2 separate regions of the Homo sapiens genome follow, and region 2 is linked to region 1. The links are contacts of gene promoters, found by promoter capture Hi-C in human tissues and cell types (Jung and others, 2019). All regions are on one chromosome and are shown on one strand. Each heading gives the region's core, a stretch centred on a gene start or on the middle of the fragment in contact. The rest is flanking DNA. Distances are from core to core; before and after follow the strand shown.

Region 1 (4,380 bases), core at 1,045-3,544:
AAAGGGCTTGGCACAGCGCCTCCAACATAGTATGTACTCAATAAATGGTAGCTATTAATAATTTGGAATATAGCTTTCATATTAAGAAATAATACAATAACTACTCTACACATCTTTGGTACAAATTTCTGAATACTTAAGTGGAAATTTCCAAAAAGTCATTTCCTTTTTTTTTTTTTGAGATGAAGTCTCACTCTGTCGCCCAGACTGGAGTGCAGCAGCACGATCTCGGCTCACTCCAACCTCTGCCTCCTGGTTCAAGCGATTCTCCTGTCTTCGCCTCCAGAGTAGCTGAGATTAAAGGTGCCAGCCATCACGCCCGGCTAATTTTTATATTTTTAGTAGAGATGGGGCTTCACCGTGTTGGCCAGCCTGGTCTTGGGCTCCTAATCTTTAGTGATCCGCCCACCTCGGCCTCCCAAAGTGCTGGGATTACAGGAATGAGCCACCGCACCCGGCTGTAATTTCCTGTTTTTAATAACATGACACTTTTTTCAATACTACTCTCCTCTGAAAAGATAAAAAGCATTTAGACAAATTATTTATACAACATATGACAGATGGGGTAGAGTGGAAAGACACACAGCTTTAGAGCCAGACAGAACTGAGTTCAAGACCTAATTCAGCCATTTAGTAATCGTGTAACCCGGGCCACTTACAGTTTCTCAACCTTGTAAAGCAAAGCTGTTGCAAGAATTAATAAAATATGTAAAGTATGTAAAGCATCAAGCCCAATATCTAGCACTCAATAAACGGTACTTACTACTATTCTTCTCACCTACTCCTTATAGGGGATAAAAGCAGCTTTGCCAGGGAAGAGGGAAGATATTGGAAAACACAAATACTAGTTTATATTAAGCCAGTGACGAAGGACACTGATTTTACCTGATCAGTGTAAGAACTACAGCCGTGTTTTGGGTGGCATACTCCTTCCAGAATCCAATGAAAACGGAGCCCCTAGCTCCTAGGAAAATTTCAGGAATTTTACAAAACGCTCTATGTCAGGGATTTTTAAGAATCTTTTATTAAGGGGAATACTAGCTAGTTACTTCTGCTTAATTTGCAAAAGTGTGAAAACCTTCACTAGTCTGTTTTGTGACAAAACGTACATTAAGTTAATATTCATAATGAAGCAAGTAAATCCTGCTTTTATTAGACTTCTCGATTTCTAAAGAAACAAAAATATCTGGTGTAAAATATTAGAACTACAAACTACGCTAGAATTAGTTCGAATATTCTCAAATGTGATGCTCAAACACCCTAACACCAAACCAAAAGGAAAAAAGTCCAAAAAGGTAACAAAGCTGGCTGTATCCAATTCTTAGAAAGTCTGAATCAATCCAGGTATCAAATGAACCTCTAACTTCCCAAAACATCTACAAACACCGAAGTCATAATTTGCAAAAACAAAGCTGAGCCAGCAAATAGAAACACTGTTTACTAACTGAACGTAGTTTATCCTTACTTCTCCTCCTTGCATGTAATACTTTTATCCTTTGACTCGGCCTTCTCAAATTCCCTTAGTAAACAATCTCATCAAACTGCTTATTGTAGTGTAAGCATGAAGTCAAAGAGTAGCATAGACTCAGTTCTCCAAATCGCGGGAGCTTTAAGGAGCTTAGCACTAGACCAAGTTTTGCCCCAATGACCTTGGTCTCAACGATTCCCCTCCCTCCCTCCAGCCGGCCCGGCCCTTCCACGTGCTGCCGGCTGCAATTACTCCAGAGGTGGCTGCATGTCAGGGAAGCGCTAGAGGATGCGAATGCACAGGAAACAAGGGTTGCTAACAGCACCCAGGCTGTGCCATCCAATCCCTCCCGACACCAACTCCCCAAGAGCGCTCACACAGCCCTACAAATTTCCCCTACCGAAGCCCTGCGGGGATAACCCCAACTCCTTCCCGGCGCCTTGCTCTGCGACCCAGTCTGTGGGGCAGGGTGTAAGGTGAAGAAATTCTCTTTGCTACACCACTATATTCCCACGCCCGACTGGGGTGCTGGGCAGCCAGGGGAAGGGGACAGCTCCTGGAAGGAGGGGACGACGGCAGGAGGAAAGTAGGCTGAAGAATCCTGCGCCACGCCACCGCCACCTCCTCCTCCACTTCCAGGCTCCCTGCAGGCCCTTGCCAGTCGCCAGCCCAGCGAGCAGCAAGGCCTGGAGTGGCAGGGCCGACCGGGGGCCCGCGAATCCCGGGGTCTGAGGGGCGCGGCGTCCTCACCATCAGAACTTTAGCCGCGTTCTCCAGCTGAGCGATCACTTCTGGGGGCCCCAGCGCCGCCGCCATCATGGTCTCTCTTCAATGACGCGCCATGCGCTGCATTCTGGGAGCGGGCGCCGCGGCCGGCCAATCGCCGCCGCGACCCCGGAGCCTCACGCGCTCCCAGGGCCGTCGCAGCCGCTGTCGACACCGGCGTCGCGGCCTCGGCGGGTCTGGCCGGGCTGCCGGGTTCCGGGTGGCTGGGAGGGGACTAGTGTGAGCCCGGCCGCCGCGCTGGGGCGGGGGCGGCCGCAGCCGGCACCGGGCGAGGCCGAGGCGGTCTGCCCAGACTGCTGCAGCCGCGCGCCCCGCTAAGCTCCCAGCCCCGCGCATGCGTGGTGTCCGGCGCCCCGGCCTCGCGGTGCCCCCGGCCCTCTCCCCACTACCCTAGTACAGCCCGCCCGGGGACCCGCAGATCCACGACGCCAGTTCGCTCCCTCCGTTCTCAGCCCTGCACACCGCCTCCCCTGGCTCCTCCTTGCCCTTCCACGCTCCAGCGCCGTGCAGGATTTCCTAAACTTGGAATCGCTCTTCCCGCTTTCCCCTCCTCAGAGCGCACCTCCTTTCAAAGTATCTCTGTCTCCTGCTTCTCTGTTCCTTCTTGCCATGGGAGAACATTCCAGGATAGAACGCTTCGTTTTCTTTCTTTCTTTTTTTTTTTTTTTGGAGACAGGGTCTCACTCTATCGCCCAGGATGGAGTGCAATGGCCCTATTTCGGCTCACTGCAACCTCCGTCTCCCGGGTTCAAGCGATTCCCCTGCCTCAGCCTCCTGAGTATCTGGGATTACAGGCGCCCGCCACCACGCCCGGCTAATTTTTGTACTTTTAGTAGAGACGAAGTTTCACCATGTTGGCCAGGCTGGTCTCGAACTCCTGACCTCAGGTGATCCGCCCGCCTCGGTCTCCCAAAGTTCTGGGATTACAGGCGTGAGCCACCGCCCCCGGCCGAACGCTTCGTTTTCATAATGGAGGGCTTTGGCCTTCTGCAGGACAATCATCCAAATGTATCTGGGCAGCGGGTCGCTAGGAGACCCTAGGAGGAAAACCCGTCTTTGGCTCTTGCCGTTTTCACTCTTTAAGGGCTGGCTCACATAGGAGAGGGAGAAAGCAGGGACAGGAAAGCCTGACCTTGACTACCTGGCTTCTCAAATGCAGTAAGATGAGCTTTGTCGGCCAGGCGCTGTGGCTCATGCCTGTAATCCCAGCACTTTGGGAGGCCAAGGCAGGCCTCATTTTAGCTCAGGAGTTCGAGACCAGCCTGGGCAACATCGTGAGACCCTGTCTCTACCAAAAAAAAAAAAAAAAAAAGCCCGGTGTGGTGTCTTGCGCCTGTGGTCCGAGCTTCTCGGGAGGCTGAAGCGGAAGGATTGCCCAGGAGGTCGAGAGTGCAGTGGGGCGAGATCACACCACGGCACTCCAGCCTGGGTGAGAGGCTGATCCTGTCTCAGGAAAAAAAAAAAAAAGGACAAAAATCAGCATTGTCGTGTTTGTGGAATCCGTGTTGAAAGGCATATTAGAGTATCAAGTAATTAACCTTCCCTCCGGTGCTCCAGTTGCCTCTAGGACATTCCACGCAAGTGGTCCTGACAGCTGTTTCAGTATTCAAACCAGTGCTGTTAGGTTGTTCGGATCAGGGGTTTGTTTCGTTTTGAGCTGACATCTACGGTCTACATTCCTATAACTTCTTTTTGGTGCTTATTCAGCCTTCTGAAACAACACAGACAGTCAAATTCGTTTCAGTATTTTTAAGTTTATTTTTTGTTGAAATCTTCCTGTTTCTTATTCCTAGTTATAAGAAAGCCATACTGTTGAGGTTTTATGTCACTGCAACAGAATGTCTGTGTGTGTGTGTGTGTGTGTGTGTGTGTGTGTGTGTGTGTGTGTGTGTGTTATGGAGTCTCTCTCTGTCACCCAGGCTGGAGTGCCATGGTGCCATCTCAGCTCACTGCAACCTCTGCCTCCTGGGTTCAAACGATTCTCGTGCTTCAGCCTCCAGAGTAGCTGGGATTACAGGTGTGCACCACTACACCTGGCTAATTTTTGTATTTTTAGCAGAGACGGGGTTTCACCATGTTAGCCAGGCTGGTCTTGAACTCCTGACCTTAGGCGATCCGCTGCCTCA
Region 2 (4,377 bases), core at 1,577-4,076, 400 kb after region 1:
GTGCAGCTAGCTGCCAGCCCAGGCAGGGTATCTGTCGAGCTCTTCTTCTTTCTCCTGTTCCAACCATTTCAGGGCTGGCTGGCTGCTCAGGTCTCATGAATCCTTACCTGGAAAGGTTGCAAAGTTTGTTAGCCTCTCCATCTTTAAAAAAAATGTATACTTGTTTTTAAAATTATTATACAGTAAAATTGACTTCTTTTGGAGGATGGTACAGTTCTATGAATTTTAACTCGTATAAATTTGTGCAGCCCTCACCACAATCAGGATACAAAGCTGTTCCATCCACCCCCAAAAATCTCCCTGTATAGCCACACCCCCCCCCGACTAACCTCTGGCAACCACTAATCTGTTCTCTCTCCCTATAGCTTTGCCTTTTCTAGAATGTCACATAGGTGGAATCCTGTATACCTTTGACTGACTTCTTTCACCCAGCATAACTCATCCCCATCTTTATTTTTTTTCCTTTTTTGGAAAATTTCCTTCCACCCATACACCTGATTTGAGCATTAACACCTTTCAGATGATTATATGTTCACCACAAGCCTCCCGCTCTTAAGGAAACTGATAAAGTATCTTATTGTAAAGGGTTTTTCTCTGGAGTGAAGTTGCAGGCTCTGGGTAGTTCTGTTGTGCTGGGTTTTTGTTCTGTGCCTCCCGTATGTGCATAGGAAATGTGTCTTTGAATGATGGGGGAGCTGTGGAACGCACTGCCAAAAGGAGGTTTCATACCCTGTTCACCTGATTGTGTCACAGAAATCAGAAAAGGAAAATCTGTGTCAGTGAATTTCACTATTCAAGTACAGTCAACCCCTCCAGATTCGGGCATCTGTAGAGTCAACCAACCTTGGATCAAAAATATCTGGAAAAAAAAATTGCATCGGTACTGAACACATACAGACTTTTTTCCTTGTCGCTGTTGCATGAAATAATACAGTGTAACAGCTATTTACATATTATTTACATTCATTAGGTATTACAAGTAATCTAGAGATGATTCAGTGTAAGGGTTGTGCTGTGTGTCAGTTATATGATTTGATGTATGGAGTGTGCTGTGCGTCAGTTATATGCAAGTACTACACCATTTTATATCAGAGACTTGAGCATCTGTGGATTTGGGTATCTGTAGGAAGATCTAACCATTGCCCACTGATACTGAGGGGTGACTGTTGGCATGGCTGTCACAAATCCCAGAATTCACTGTGTATTTGTTGTCTTAGTCTTCATCTTAATCAGTATTCTAGGATTTTTTTCTACATTTTTGCTTGTGGTCTTCACTAAAATATTTTAACTTTTCTGCCCTGTATCTTATCTTATTTTGACATTTTTAATATTATGTATAATATCTCATTTTGAAAACTTAAAAAAAAAAAAAAACTATGTGATTTATATATGTAGTTCTCCGGGTAAAAAAGAACCTTTCTCCTTTTTGAATTTTTGAGATGTTACCTACCAGTAATGTTGGTACTATTATAAGGCAATCGTCTTATAAACTTTTTCACTAAATAGTCATTTTGTTTTCTTTGTTTTCAACACAGTTTTTACGTAACAGAACTGTTTTCCTCATCACTATTAGAAATCAGTTGTTAATGTGCATGCTAGTGTTTTGAATTTTAATATTGATTATAAATTCACATGTAGATTAGTAATTTGTAAAAAAAAAAATGTAAATTTATGTAACTCATTTTTCAGATACTTTGGTACTAATGTTATTTTATCGTTACCAATTCTTACAACAAATATACCAAACTATGGATTTAAATGTTTTGGCATTAAAAACTATTTGATAATAAAATCAGGAAATTTTACCTTGTGGTGATTTTATTTCATGTTATAGTCACACATCTTCTTGGCAAATAAAATATGTAGTGTTTTGTAGTTTCTCTGCTTTTTGTTACAATTGACATGAAAACGAAAATTTAGTTTTACATCATTTTATCTTTTTAAAAAAATTGTTGCTCATTTTAATTTCTAATGACTTAAGTAGCAGCAGCAGTAGTAGTTGTACACAGTATTACATGGAGACTGAACTCATATTTTATTAAAAGGACTAAAGAGACTGTGCCTTTGTTTTCTGCACAAAGACTAGAATGTAGTTAAAGACTAAAGTGTAGTTAAATGAGTTTTGAAACTATACTATGTGTCAGTTAAAGAAAACAAGCCTCTAAGAGTTGTTTTTTGGAGCTAGGTTAACCTGTGAGAACCATACTGCAAAGAATTTTAGCCAGAAAGTTGTAGAATATTTGAAACCAGTGTCTGCTCTTTTGATTTAATAAAGGGTTAGGAAGAATTTGCTTGGTGTTTATATTTGAAGGAGAAAAACTTTTCTGAAACAAAGTTAATAAAATTATTTTTTTTGGAAAGAAACAAACTTGGTTTCAAGGAATAACAGAATTAAATAAATGTTCAGAAAGCAGCTGCTTTGCTTTACTCGCTTAGGAAAAAGTCAGTAATGGAAATGCATAGGCCAAGCCAATGGCACATCTTAAAACCCAGTTTTCATTTTCACCCCCAGATCCTGGAAGAAAGCTTCCCATCAAATTCCCTTTTGGTTTCGTCTTTCCCCTTTATTAGGCTGATTTTGTGAAAATCGCTCACCCTGAGCCAGCATTCAGGGAAGTCGCAGAAGAAGCTTGTAGAAGTATTGGCACCATGGTAGAGAAGTATGTGCTGTTCCCCTCCCCACCTCCGTGCCAAGTCCTGGGTGATCCGGTTTCATGGACTTGTGCCGTAGGCAGTTTTGTCCATAGTGCTTGTCCCCCGCCCAGCAGGGTGGGAGGTGTGTGTGACCAGGGGTGGCCGGAGGGAGGTCTCAGGACAGGCCATTGGCTCACCTTGCAGGCAGGCACTGGGCCTCAGGGCTGGTTGTCTGTTCTCTCAGTCATTTCCTTCTCTGTAAATGGGGTCATAAAGTTAACCCTGCCTCAGGGTCCTTGTGAGTGTTAAATGAGATCAATGTAAAGGTGTCACTTGATAATCTGAGATGACAGACACCCAGGATTCTTGTCATCACCATTATCACTTACCTTAAATAAGGGCTTTTTAGTGTCCTAGTGGCAAGTTGGACTTACTAGATTATCGCTTGATTAAATTGCTGTTGCATCAATGGCTGTGGGCCACGGGGCGAGAAGCCAAAACGCTCTATAAACAGTGTCCTTGTGGTCCCTGTTGAGTTGGAATTAGGGGAGTCTAGGGAGGCTGTGAAAGTCTGTGGGAGAGCTGGAGCAGGCTCTGGCTGAGGCTGTGATGGAGTGAATTATTTTAAAGTGATTTTGGGGTAAATGTGAGTGTTTTTAAGCCACTTATAAGAGCTCCATAGTGCTTGTTAAAATAACTGAATGGTGGACAGCGCTGTATTCCAACACACTTAGCTGCATGGCACCATGCCAGGCAGTGTATAGAGCTAGGGAGAGCCCTGGGCTCGCCAGCGTGGATTTACAACAGGGAAAAGGGGGTAACACGATAAGACAATTTCATATGCCAGAAATTGTTGGAGGAGGAGAGTGATGGCTTCTCTGGTTAGACGAGGCTTCCTTGGAAGACCCAACGCTTCAGGATGTGCAGCTGCTGCTTTTCCCCAGGTCGCCAACATTTGTTCACTTTGGCACAATCGTGTGTGACTTTCCCCATAGCCGCTGAAAACCAACTTGCGTAATGGGACAGAACGGGGCCCTGCAGAGTGCAGACACTGGGCATGCTGACAGGGCTGAAAGTGGGGACTCCCTGGGAGAAAGCTTTGCCTCTCGGGGAAAGGCCCCTGGGAAGGAGTCAGCAGTGGGCTGCCTGCTCGAGGCTCTCTGCATGCTGTGTCCTGCCGAATTAGACGTGGGCTGGTCTCATGGACAAGCACTCTTCATTTTGTGGGAGGACAAATACAGACTGAAGTATGGGCTTTATCTCAGGGTCTTCCAACATAAAACATACTACTGGGAGATTTCCTTAAACCTCTGCAGTGGGGGCAGTGCGGGCAGCCTCTGAGCTACTGTTCCTTTGCCATGGAGTGGCTCCGTGGGTGAGCAGGTTGGGAGGAGGTAGGCCTCCACACTCACTCTCTCCCTGACTTCTGGGATCCATGTGTGGGAGTCTGGCCCTTCTTGGTGAGTGTTTTTTGATGGGTAATGACTATCTACGTTTCACTAGCATTCGGGAAGGCCCATGTGAATGGTAACAGAAACCCTTCGATTGATGTAAATCTTCAGTGTTTTTATCTTGAACCAACTGAGGAACAGGAGTATCCTTGAGTCTCTGAGTAGGAACTGGTGGGTGGTTCTTACAAGAAAGAGATGAATCTGAACTATAAGGAAGCTTATAATAGAGTTATTTTCTATTACTTTTTCCTCATCTAGTTTTCTTTTGACATTTTAGACCATTAGGACATCT

What was found. The method cuts DNA at HindIII sites, captures the fragments that hold promoters and counts their contacts. A contact is called where the count stands out against the background at its distance.
Region 2: a contact is called between a fragment that was not itself captured here and the fragment with the promoter of XPO4 in region 1, in 1 of the 25 tissues and cell types used here (aorta).

The regions. Positions count from the first base shown.
Region 1 is chr13:20,900,452-20,904,831 of GRCh38, forward strand. XPO4 (exportin 4) reads right to left here and starts at 2,295. Exons shown (of 23, transcript NM_022459.5): 1 at 2,219-2,295. The coding sequence starts at 2,287. RefSeq lists an enhancer at 2,058-2,107 and a silencer at 2,318-2,697. The HindIII fragment of the contact is 40,685 bases long and covers 1-4,380 here.
Region 2 is chr13:21,303,714-21,308,090 of GRCh38, forward strand. LINC00539 (long intergenic non-protein coding RNA 539) reads right to left here. Exons shown (of 3, transcript NR_103841.1): 3 at 1-107. It also overlaps the pseudogene MIPEPP3. Among named protein-coding and RNA genes, the nearest start is that of LINC00539, 39 kb to the right of the region's middle. The HindIII fragment of the contact is 3,239 bases long and covers 1,208-4,377 here.